Regions from separate parts of the Homo sapiens genome. Here region 2 is linked to region 1. The links are contacts of gene promoters, found by promoter capture Hi-C in human tissues and cell types (Jung and others, 2019). All regions are on one chromosome and are shown on one strand. Each heading gives the region's core, a stretch centred on a gene start or on the middle of the fragment in contact. The rest is flanking DNA. Distances are from core to core; before and after follow the strand shown.

Region 1 (5,524 bases), core at 237-2,736:
ACGAAGGATGAAGAGATGAATACTCTAGCCTCTCAGTAGTACCAGCAGGGCGATAGGTACTTCCATACCCCCCCCAAATAAGACCCAAGTCCCAGCTTTGACAAAAGAACCATGTTTGGAAGAGAAACTGAAGTAAATTGGAAGGAAGCGCTTCAACAGGAGGAGAGTGGTTCAAAAGATGGACAAGAGGTAAGTTGTGATCTTCGAAGACCAGGTCATGGAGAAGGGGGCACCCTTAAAGGGAAGTGAGAGAGGGAAAGAAAGAATTTCATTCTAATTCCTGAGAGCAAGGCAGCGCATATAAAATTACCTAAGATTTACAGAGCGATTTGCCGTTTACAAAACATTATGACATTCACGATAACGTTTAATCCTTATCACCCTGAAACGCTGGTTACATTTTATTTTACACATGAGGAAACTGAGGCTGAGTAGGGCGGATTATGCGACTTGCTCAAGGTCACTTGGCTGAAGTCAGCGCTAGGATGCATCCCCAATGCCCCCACCCCTCCGGGTGGCCGTCCACCCTGAAAGTCTTTGTATTATCTCCTACAGGGCAAGGCTGGTGTGGCTGCAACAGACTTCGCCCCCTCACCCCCAAATCTGGGACGGAGCAGCGCCCTCAGGTGTCAAGGAGGGGACCTGAGTGACGCGGAGCCACTGACTGGGGTTTCCCTGTCCTGCGGGGCTCGCGGGAGCCAGGAGCAGAAGCCACAGCTCTCGAACACACGACAGGCAGTCAGTCAAGTCAGGCTCCAGCAGCAGTTGCCGGCGTGGGGCTTAACACGAGAGGGGCAGCGCTGGGTGAATTCCCCTCCGAGCGATCCCAGGGCTAGGACCAAGCGCCTGCGCCCGCTTCTCCGACCCGGCTCCCCACACTCCCCCCTGCCCCGCTGGCTCCTTCCCGGAGGTTCCCCTGTGCGTGGGGGCGCCCTGGAAGAGGAATGGGGCTGGGGTGGAGTATGGAGGTGTCAGAGGGCCGACCCCGGGGCGAGGGCTTCCAACGCCGATCTTATGGGTCAGGACAACCGCGAACAAACCCCGGCTGAAGTTTGGGCATCAAGGGTTTCAGACCAAGTAGCAAGTTGCCTGGAGAGCGAGCGGTCCTAGGTGGAGGGCCTGGGGCAGGGGTGGCGGTAGGGGAACAAGGGAGAGGCAGGAGATGGTGCCCCTTCCCACGCAGCCCCTCGCGGCCCCGCGGGTAGGTGGCCGGTCCGCCTCTGCAGCCCGCGGGTGCGGAGAAAGCGCCCGGCACCGGGCACCCGGCACCGCGGCGCAGCGCAGCCAGCCCCTCCTCGCCGCGCTCCGCGCTCCTCCCCACCTGCCCACGGCCTCGCCCCCGCCGCGGAGACTCACAGTCCTCAGAAACTGGATCTCGTCCTCGCCTCCTTCTCCCCCTTCGGCCATGGCTCCCGAGGCGTCGGCGGTGCCCCAGCCTCCGGCGCCTCTGCTTCCCCCGGCAGCCGCTCGGCGTGCGCTGACTGCTGCTGCGCTCTTTCTCCTCCTCCTTTTCGTCCTCGTCCTCCACCTCCTCCTCCAGCTCCTGGCTCAGCCTCAGCCTCAGCAGCGCCAAGCTAATCCCCGACCATATAGGGAGCTGGGCTAACACTCCACTGCACTGCAGAGCGCCAACGCCAACCAAGCAGTCCGCCCACCCCTCTCGCCTCTCGCCCCAGCCAAGTGCGCTGCGGCCGCCCGCTCCGTGGAGAGCGCAACGCTGGGCGCGTCGAGCTGGCGGGGGCGGTGCGGGGGCCCTGGGCTGGCGCGGTGGAGCCTCCCCCGCACCGCTGGGTACCGCACCGCACACTCAGCGGAGGCGCGCGCCCCGCGGCGACCGGAGGATGTCCCCTAAACTGCTCCAATTCACAAACAAAGGCCAGTTGCTTAGCTCCAGCGCGCCCAGACTGGGTACCAACCCTCTCGCTTTGCTCGCTTTGCCCGCTTTGCCCACTTTGCCTGTGTGTGTGTGTGTGTGTGTGTGTGTGTGTGTGTGTGTGTGACAGAGATAGAGAGAGAGAGAGAGGAAAGAGAGAGACAGAGACAGAGAGAGAGAGAGAGGAAAGAGAGAGACAGAGACAGAGAGACAGAGAGAGGAAAGAGAGAGAGACAGAGACAGAGAGAGAGAGAGAGAGAGAGAGAGAGATCTGGACTCGAATACCTTGCTAGGACCCGCGTGCATTGTTGGGCAAGGAGAAGACGGTGCAGTGAGGAGCGAGGGTGATTGTCCACTTACAACAAAGTTTGCAACTCCCTGGATAGTCCTTTCTACACCTTAAGAGAACCCCTTCCCCTCTTCAAAATTGGTAAGTACACTTTACCAAACCCCTGGATTGTCCAGGGTTGCTGTGACTTCTGTACCCCAGGGAGCTTCTGGGGGATCCTGTGCCACCCTCAATTTGGAAGTCAGGTGGCATCACAACCCTTCCTCTCTGCCCACCCCTAACCTTATTCTGCATTTAGAGTTCCAGCCCTGTGGACTCTAAAGGGAGTAGAGAGTAGTTACAGGAGGCTCCCTTCCAGGTCCTGGAAGGCTCCTACATCCCACCCAGCCTTAGGTCCTTTTCCATGGTTGGGGATTGCCAGATTGGTCCTTGCCTTGACTGACGGTGCAGGGTGCCCCCTTCTGTTTGATGGCCGAGAAGCTCCAAGGCAAGAGACTGTTCAAGGCAAAAGGCACCAGAGATGTAGATTTAGGAGGAAGTGCAACTGGGAAGGTGGTAATTCTGGGCTGATGATGGTGGAAGACACTGGAAACCCCAAGCCATTTCACAGCTTCATATACCGCCTCCTTGTGGACGACATCTATCTCTTGATGCTACCTTAAGATCTCTTTCCTGAGCTTCCGTCCCATATGTTCTGATGAACATCAGAAATGCAAAGAAAAATGTTTTTTTCTTGTATTGTACTCAAACTGCTACCTTCTAGGCTTCAGCTTGGGCCTTGTGCCTCTTCTGAAACCCGCCTAGAATAAGTCAAACCATCTGTACATTGTGGCCCTTCACCTCTTAGAAGGCATCTGCCATGCTTGCCTCTATGGCCCACCATCCACTCTTTTCTTCTCCTGGCTCAAGGTTCTTCTTAGCCCCAACTTTCCCTGTAGTATAGTTTCCAGAGCCTATGTCATCTTTGATGGCCATATGAGCATTCCAGGTGGTCTTCTTCCTGAATTGTTGTGCTCTCCGTCCTTGTTTTGGACAGTCTTTATGTGCAGCCTAATATTGGATTGGCTTCTGGAGAAACACTAATGACACTCACTGTGTTTGGAGTTAACTAGAATTTCTAGATTTACTTTTTTCCTCCCACGTGAACTGCAAAAGTCAGCTCTTCTCCATCTTGATCACATGCAAGTGCTTGAGTACCTGTGGGCACGGTGGCTCACGCCTATAATCTCAACACTTTGGGAGGCCAAGGCGGGTGGATCACCTGAGGTCGGCAGTTCGAGACCAGCCTGACCAACATGGAGAAACCCCATTTCTACTAAAAAAAAAAAAAAAATACAAAATTAGCCGGTCGTGGTGGTGCATGCCTGTAATCCCAGCTACTTGGGAGGCTGAGGCAGGAGAATCGCTTGAACCCGGGAGGTGAAGATTGCCGTGAGCCGAGATCATGCCATTGCACTCCAGCCTGGGCAACAAGAGCGAGACTCTGTCTCAAAAATATGTGTGTGTGTGTGTGTGTGTGTGGGTGGGTGTGTGTGTGTTCCTTCCAATTGTAATACCCAATCATGTATTGATGTCTCTATATGTGAACCTTTAAGGTATTTTTAAAGCTAGAGTATGCCAGGCAAGGTGCTAATTATTACTAACCTGTGATATGGCATACCTTCAGAATACTAATAGAGGCCCTCTTGGATTAACTTTCATACTTTTGATTATGCTTAATATGGCATACCTTCAGAATACTAATAGAGGCCCTGTTGGATTAACTTTCATACTTTTGATTATGCTTATTTAATGATCAAGAACTTACCTAAGTCAGAAAAATAATACCTATTGAGTACTATGCTTATTACCTGCGTGACAAAATAATCTGTACACCAAACCTCCATGACATGCAGTTTACTTATGTAACAAACCTACATATGTACCCTTGAACCTAAAATAAAAGTTATAATTAAAAAATAACCTACATAAATATATTATTTTGCAGCCCAAATTTCTTCTTGTTCATAGGGCTACTATAAATGCCTTTCTTACATACTTTACTGAAATACAGATATGTAATCTGGGACACCACCTCCCGCATCAGTCAAATAACCCTACCACAAAAGAAGTAAGAATGGAGTTCTGTAACACCATTGGTGCATCCACTTGGATTCCTGATGGTCTTTGTGTTCCTTTAGAGTTCCCAAAAGTAAGCTGTTTAATTATCAAAATCTAAGATTGTTCTGGAGCTCAGCGTATAAAAGAGTCTCAGGCTGTTGTTTCAGACTGTAAACTGGGGAAGGTGGACATTTACTTCTATTTGAAATCTATTGGTACTTCTTCCATTCTCTAAGATTTCCCAAAGATGCACCAATAATGATGCTGTAGTCATACAGGTACAGATAAATAGTAGTTCAGACACTGTGCTTTGATACTTGTTTTGCTATTAGTTCACCCATTAAGACCGGGAGAGAATAAACTAATAGTAAGTTACTTGTCTAAATTCATACATCTAGTAAAAGGAGTCACACAATCTCCTCTTACTTGGAGTAAAACAATCTCAATACTTTTCAGTACTTTCTCCACTATAGTGCCTTGCTTCTAGAACAGCAAAGTGGAAAACATCAGGTTCATACACCACCTCCATGCCCCCATACCCCATACACATTGGGTTTGCTTCCACACAGCCTATATTTTAAACTGAGTCTCTCTCAAGACCAGTTACTCTTAGTAGAGAGCCGGAGGACTTGGACCTTAGGTCTTAGAGGGTACTGTAGCTACTACATTTTGAAAGAAAAACCCAAAGCCTCCCAGGTTTCTAAACCTCTGGAGAAAGCTATCAGCCATTATTATGACTTCAATTAGGTGCACACAACAGGGAAATCAAATACCTTTGGGATACTGGCATGGTTCAAAGTCAGACCTCAAAGCCTGCTGTATTTGAATGTTGGGGCACTCTGCAGCCAATATCAACAGCAGGTGGAGAGCCTGTAGTGGGGGCCAAATCAGAAATTTTTCATTTTTATCATTATAGCACTTTTATACCTTTTACATATACAATTTTAAAGGCCTGACATTGAAATATTGTTATTCAATATTGACTATTGAAATAAAATTCATGTATTTATTTTCTCCTCTGGAGGTTCTCAAAGTATTGGTCCTAAGGATTTTCTCACATAAGAGGGCCTCTTATTTGTGTTTTAACAGTAATATTGCTATAGTTTTAAAATGCTAATGAAAATGTCCACACTCATATAAGTCAGTATCTCATTTGCTATGTTGTATTATTCATGGTAGCCAGTTGCCCAAGTGGTCTCAATGAGGCCAAGGATATGGATTCAGTTCTAGGAGGGCCAGTTAGCTTCACTCCATTTGCTGTC
Region 2 (5,580 bases), core at 2,335-4,834, 110 kb before region 1:
TCCCAGCTACTCGGGAGGCTGAGGCAGGAGAATGGCATGAACCCGGGAGGCGGAGCTTGCAGTGAGCCAAGATCACGGCAATTCACTCCAGCCTGGGCCACAGAGCGAGACTCCATCTCAAAAAAAAAAAAAAAAAAAAAATTGTGAGTCTCAACCTAGTAGAAGCTTCAGACCAAATGGTGTCAGAAAACAGACTGTAGACTATAGCAGACAACACAGGGTTATTTTGTTGGTGTTTACTTCTGAATTGCTACCTATTGTGGTCTCCCTCTTGAATCCTTTGCAAACAGCAGGATTTCTCTTCTCTCTGTAGTTTTAGATTTCACCAGAAATTCAGAAGCTGAGTCAGGACTACATGTGGCCCCATCTGCCAAGCAAGAAGGCTGAACTGTTTTGGAAATACAATGACGACAGGAGGAGTCAGAATTTCCCACAGCCTCTCCAGCAAACAGACAGACTACAATTGCTCCAACTAGATTTTACATTCCTCAAAGCCACAGGACAAGCAAGAACATTTATCTTGAAAAGCCTCATTAACAGAAACATCTTATGCAATTCTTTATCTCCTTTAGGGGGCTATTAAAGTGACTTACACCAACTGGGTATTCAACAGAGTTGCTGAATAAGTAAAACGCGGTGGAGATCAACACTAGCACACAGGATTCATCCATGGTGCACTTTTAAGGAGTCTGTTGACTGTATGGCCACATGAAAGGACAGGTAAGTTTCAAGATGTGGAAACTCTTCCCACAATCCTAACCATGCCAAGTTAGAAAACAAGGGAATGGGGCTGATTGCTGTAGGTAAAGTTATTCCCATATTCCCATTTTCTTCTTCTTGTTTTTCAAAATGTTGCCAGGCTGGACTCAAACTCATGGGCTCAAGTGATTTTCCTGCCTTAGCCTTCCAAGTAGCTGGGGCTACACGCACACACCACCATGCCCGGCTTCTCATCTTTGCATCTTGATAGAGGCCCTATAGTGCTCATCATATAAATAAGATATGATAAATAAGATAAATAAGACACAGAAGAGTTCACAAAAACCCCCATGTGATGACAGATAATCACTCTAACAGAGATAGGTGAGCCTAGACCCAGTCCAATATATGCCAGGTGGGGCTTCAGAGAGAGGAATCTTTTTATAGGCTTCAGAGAAAGGATAATTTCCTTAAATGTGGCTCAATCAGGCAGATGGGAGAGCATGCACTGAGCTATCAGTCACATGCTTATCTGGTCTACACTGGCCAGTGGCTTAGGAGGGCAGCAGACAAGGCTAGCGACCTACGCTGCAAAGGGCCTCTTACAAAGTACCAAACAGTTTGAAGTTTGTTTTGAGAAAACAGAAATTTGAAGTGGCTCAAGCAGAGAAGTTCCATAATCAGGTTTTTAGAAAAATAACTCTGCAGGCAGTATTAATAGCACCCCAACTAACCCCATTTGTCTATGTGCCAAGCAATGTACTAAGGGCTTGACCTGTCTTGTCTTCACAATAGCCCTGTTGGGTAGGCAATGTTGTCCTCTTTTATAGGTAAAGAAACAGGTGTTCACTGAGATTAACTGACTTGTCTGAAGTGTCATGGCTAGTAGTGGCAGAGCTGGGACTCAGACCAGGTTCTCATTCTGATGCCTGTGCACTTAAGCACTATGCTGTACTGCCTGCAGTATTTAGGAGGAATGAGAAAAAGAGGAGATCAGGAAATGAGGGAACAGTTTGCAAGCCACTGTACTAGTCTAGCCCAGAGACTAGGGACATCTGAACCAGGGCAAGGAGAGTTCACCAAGAGTACTAGCAAGGCATATTGACATGGCCAAGAGCTGCCGTTTAGCAAACTGATCCTGGGTGCATTGGAGGATATTTCAGAGCAACGGGTTTTCTTACTTTAAAATTTTTAGAAGAATGCTTCAACTGACAAGCCTTAACTTGGAAATAAAAGTCTATAATCAATTATTTTCTATGGCAAAAATAGGAACACTTAAGAAACCTCATGAACAAAAATGTGTTCAAAGCTTATTACTCACTACAAAATATTTTTGCATATTCCAAATCCAGGGTGCATAAGAGCACAATGAGATTCTACTTCACACCCACTAGGATGGCTATGACAATATTAAAAAAAAAACCTGGAAAATAATAAATGTTGATAAAGATGTGGAGAAATCAGAATCCTCGTACATTGCTGGTGGAAGTGTAAAATGGTAAACAGTGGAAAACAGTTTGGTGGGTCCTCAAAAAGTTAAATGTAGAATTACCATGTGACCCAGAAACTCCACTTCTAGGTATATATCCAAAGGAACTGAAAGCAGGAACTCAAACAGATGCTTACAGGCCAATTCACAATAACCTAAGGTGGAAACAATCAAAGTGTCTGTCAACAGATAAATGGATAAACAAAATACAGTCTATACATACAATTGAATTTTATTCAGCTATAAAAAAGGAATGAAGTTCTGATACATACTACAACATGGATAAACTCTGGAAACATTTTGTTAAGTGAAATAAGTCAGACACAGAAAGACAAATATTATATAATTTCAATTATATGAAATTTCTAGAATAGGCAAATCCATAGACACAGAAGGTAGATTTGAGATTACCAGGGGCTGGAGGCAGGGATGGAGAGTTATTGCTTAATGGTTGCAAAGTCTCTATTTGTGGTAATGGAGATGTTTTGGGAATAGTGGTGATGGTTGTAAAACATTGTGTAAGTACTTATTACCACTGAATTTTAACCATTAAAATTAAAACTTGTTAAAATGGCAAACTCAATGTTATATATATGTTACAATTTAAACTCCCTTGAAGCAAAATAAAAACACTAATATGCAAAGTTTTCTCAACTACTACAAGAGGGAATAAATGCAACCTTGTCTTGTCTTTAGGTCTATGTCAAATGCAAATATGCTTAGAACTAGATGCCTTTAAAATATATTATTCAAACCAATTCAATGGCTTTCTGCAGGCTAATATTTAAACTGTTTTACAGGGGATACAAGGCCTCTGCTGATCTGGTTCCTACTTACCTGTCCAAGCCCAGGTTCATCTCTCATACTACCTCTGCTATCTATAAATTCATGGCCCCACGATACAGAAGAGTCCCAGGATGTGCGAGGTTCTCTCCTCTCTCTCTCTGCTTGCCCACGCAGTTCTGTGTATTTAGAAAGGGCTCACATACCACCCCTACCCCAACTCTTATCATCTAGCCTAATGAATCCATGATCAAGCCTTCCCCACACTTCTGAAGCTCCTTTACCCATGGCCCATTACCTTGATTTATCCCTCTGCAATGGCAATCACAATATTCCAATTCCTCATTTGCATGTCTGTATTCTACTACACTGTTACTTTATTAAGAACAGGAAATATGCCATTCCATATTTCTCTACAAGGACTAGTATTCCATAAATGGTTTTTAAATAAATGAGCAAGAGACTAAGCCCAGCACTCAGCTGGGGAGTAAAGATTCTGATCACCTGTATTCTAAGATGAAGTCACTCACTGCTGCTGCCTCATTGTCCTTCAGTGGACACCAAGTTTAAGTATGAATACCAGGTGTCAAGTAATAAAACAAAAACAAAAAAACCATCAAAGTCAGAAAAGCCTCAAAGGATCACCCCCACAGTGAGACTATCCACACAAACTGGAACCTGAGGAAGTTCTGAGAAGGCAAGTGGGAAGGAGTTTATTGAAAATGTGCTCCATGTGAAACAGAATTGTTCAATTATAATAATGAACTGAAGTAGCACTGCAGTGAAGGAAGCAAAATCTTAAGGTGAAGAGTAAAAATGTTAGTAATCACCCAATACTACCAACCTCAAAAAATGAGTAATTTGATTATTCTTATCTAAATATGTCTGTTTCCAAGCAGGTCTTCCACATTTTATGGGACTAAATTAAACCTCTTTTAAAATTCATCCGTTTTTCTTTGTTCTGCTTCTACATCTGACAATTGGGTTACTCTGAAGTTCTACCTAACAGATGGAACTGATATAAATAGGGGATTTTCCAGTCATCGGAAATAAATGCTTCTAAATAATAATTCACAGAATAATACTCAGATTTATAAACTCCTGTGAGTTTGGTCACTATGAATTAGGGCCTCATCAGCATGACCTAGGTTATTTGATTATTACTCTTAGAGGTCTAAGAGTAAGCTCATTGTCTCCTACTGATCTTTCAAAAACCCCTCCTCTGCCAGCATTCCTTATTTCACACCATCTACCTTTGTTTGGGAACCAGAAACCTAGACATCATCCTAGAGGCTTCCTTCGCCTTTTTATTGTCCACATCCGATTCTCACCAAGCCCCTATAACCTTTCCCAAACCATACAGATTAGATTACTTCCATCCTCAATGTCGTTATCCTAGTCCAGGCCTTGGTTTTTCACCTGGATTCATACAACAACTCCAAATTGATCTCTGTGTCTTTAGTCTTGTCTCCTTTCAACCTACCTCTAGGCTCAGACTCATTGCAAAAGCAGCTCTAATTAGATAACTCCCTTGCATGAGGTCCTTCTAAATACCTTACACAATCAATGACATCTTCTAATATCTGTCCTCTGCCTCTCTCTCTGGTCTCCTTATGCACCCCTTTGAAATCTAAAATTCAGCTTCATTCCGTTTCTCCTCCAATTCACCAGGATCTTTCTTAGTTCCAGGCCTTTACTACAGAAAGAATGAATGAATAGTAAGTGAAATCCCTCCTCTCATGGCTCCCCAAATTGACCTTTTTGGCCTGGATAACCCATTCAGGACTCAGTCATCTTTGTAAGGTAATTTTCCCTAAAGAAGCAAGACCCCCAAGAAAAATTTAGGCACACCTCCTCAGTCTCCAGCACACTGCATGGTACAGGGCAGGTACTCAAAAATGCCTGCAGAATGACTGCTTACCATCACAGCAGGTAGGTAATGGACATGGTGGGATTTCATTTTACCAACAGTAGGTTCTGATCTAGATTATTTTTGCTTTCCTACTTCCATATCTGCATATTTCATCAAGGGGCCTTATCAGAAGCAACAGCTTCCTTTCTTATAAGGTAGGCAAAGAACTAGACAAATAAACAGCAGCTCAGTTTTTAAAATTTGTGAGATTGTTTTAAAAAAAAAATCGAAGGAAAAGAACATGCTGCAAATTTAGAGATCTGATTCTAGTGCTCCATCTGTCCCTGACTTGCTTTGCTGAAACTGACTTCTTGTGCCTTAACTTCGTCTGCAAAATAAGGATAGATTTCTACCTCATCAGGATGTTGCAAGAACAAATAAGACACAACATGAAGGTACCTCCACTCTGAATGGAATGGTCTACAAGAAATCCAGCAGATTCACCTTGCTCTTCTATGTCAATATAAAAATATTAATCAACTTACAAGTAACATCACAAACAAATGTATTATGTTTTGTGGGACTTATAAACAGGCCCTGGGCTTGAGACCCCATCGTCACCTGCTAAACACTCAAACCCCTGACATTCTGATTCTTCTGTTGGTTGCTTTGCTGCAGATAAGGAGGAACCCAATTATATTTTCTTTTTAAGCTTTGCTGGATGCCCAACACATCCATTTCCCCTCTCCCACTCTCT

The links. Contacts are between HindIII fragments. The study calls those that stand out against the background at their distance.
Region 2: a contact is called between a fragment that was not itself captured here and the fragment with the promoter of RYR3 in region 1, in 3 of the 25 tissues and cell types used here (aorta, heart left ventricle and hippocampus).

Annotation. Positions count from the first base shown.
Region 1 is chr15:33,306,929-33,312,452 of GRCh38, reverse strand. RYR3 (ryanodine receptor 3) reads right to left here and starts at 1,486. Exons shown (of 104, transcript NM_001036.6): 1 at 1,357-1,486. The coding sequence starts at 1,407. It overlaps RYR3-DT (RYR3 divergent transcript), which reads left to right and starts at 1,794. Exons shown (of 3, transcript NR_120327.1): 1 at 1,794-1,875. RefSeq lists enhancers at 244-753, 754-1,265. The HindIII fragment of the contact is 9,811 bases long and covers 1-5,524 here.
Region 2 is chr15:33,420,199-33,425,778 of GRCh38, reverse strand. The region is part of intron 1 of RYR3 (ryanodine receptor 3); the gene reads right to left. Among named protein-coding and RNA genes, the nearest start is that of RYR3, 110 kb to the right of the region's middle. The HindIII fragment of the contact is 4,994 bases long and covers 1,088-5,580 here.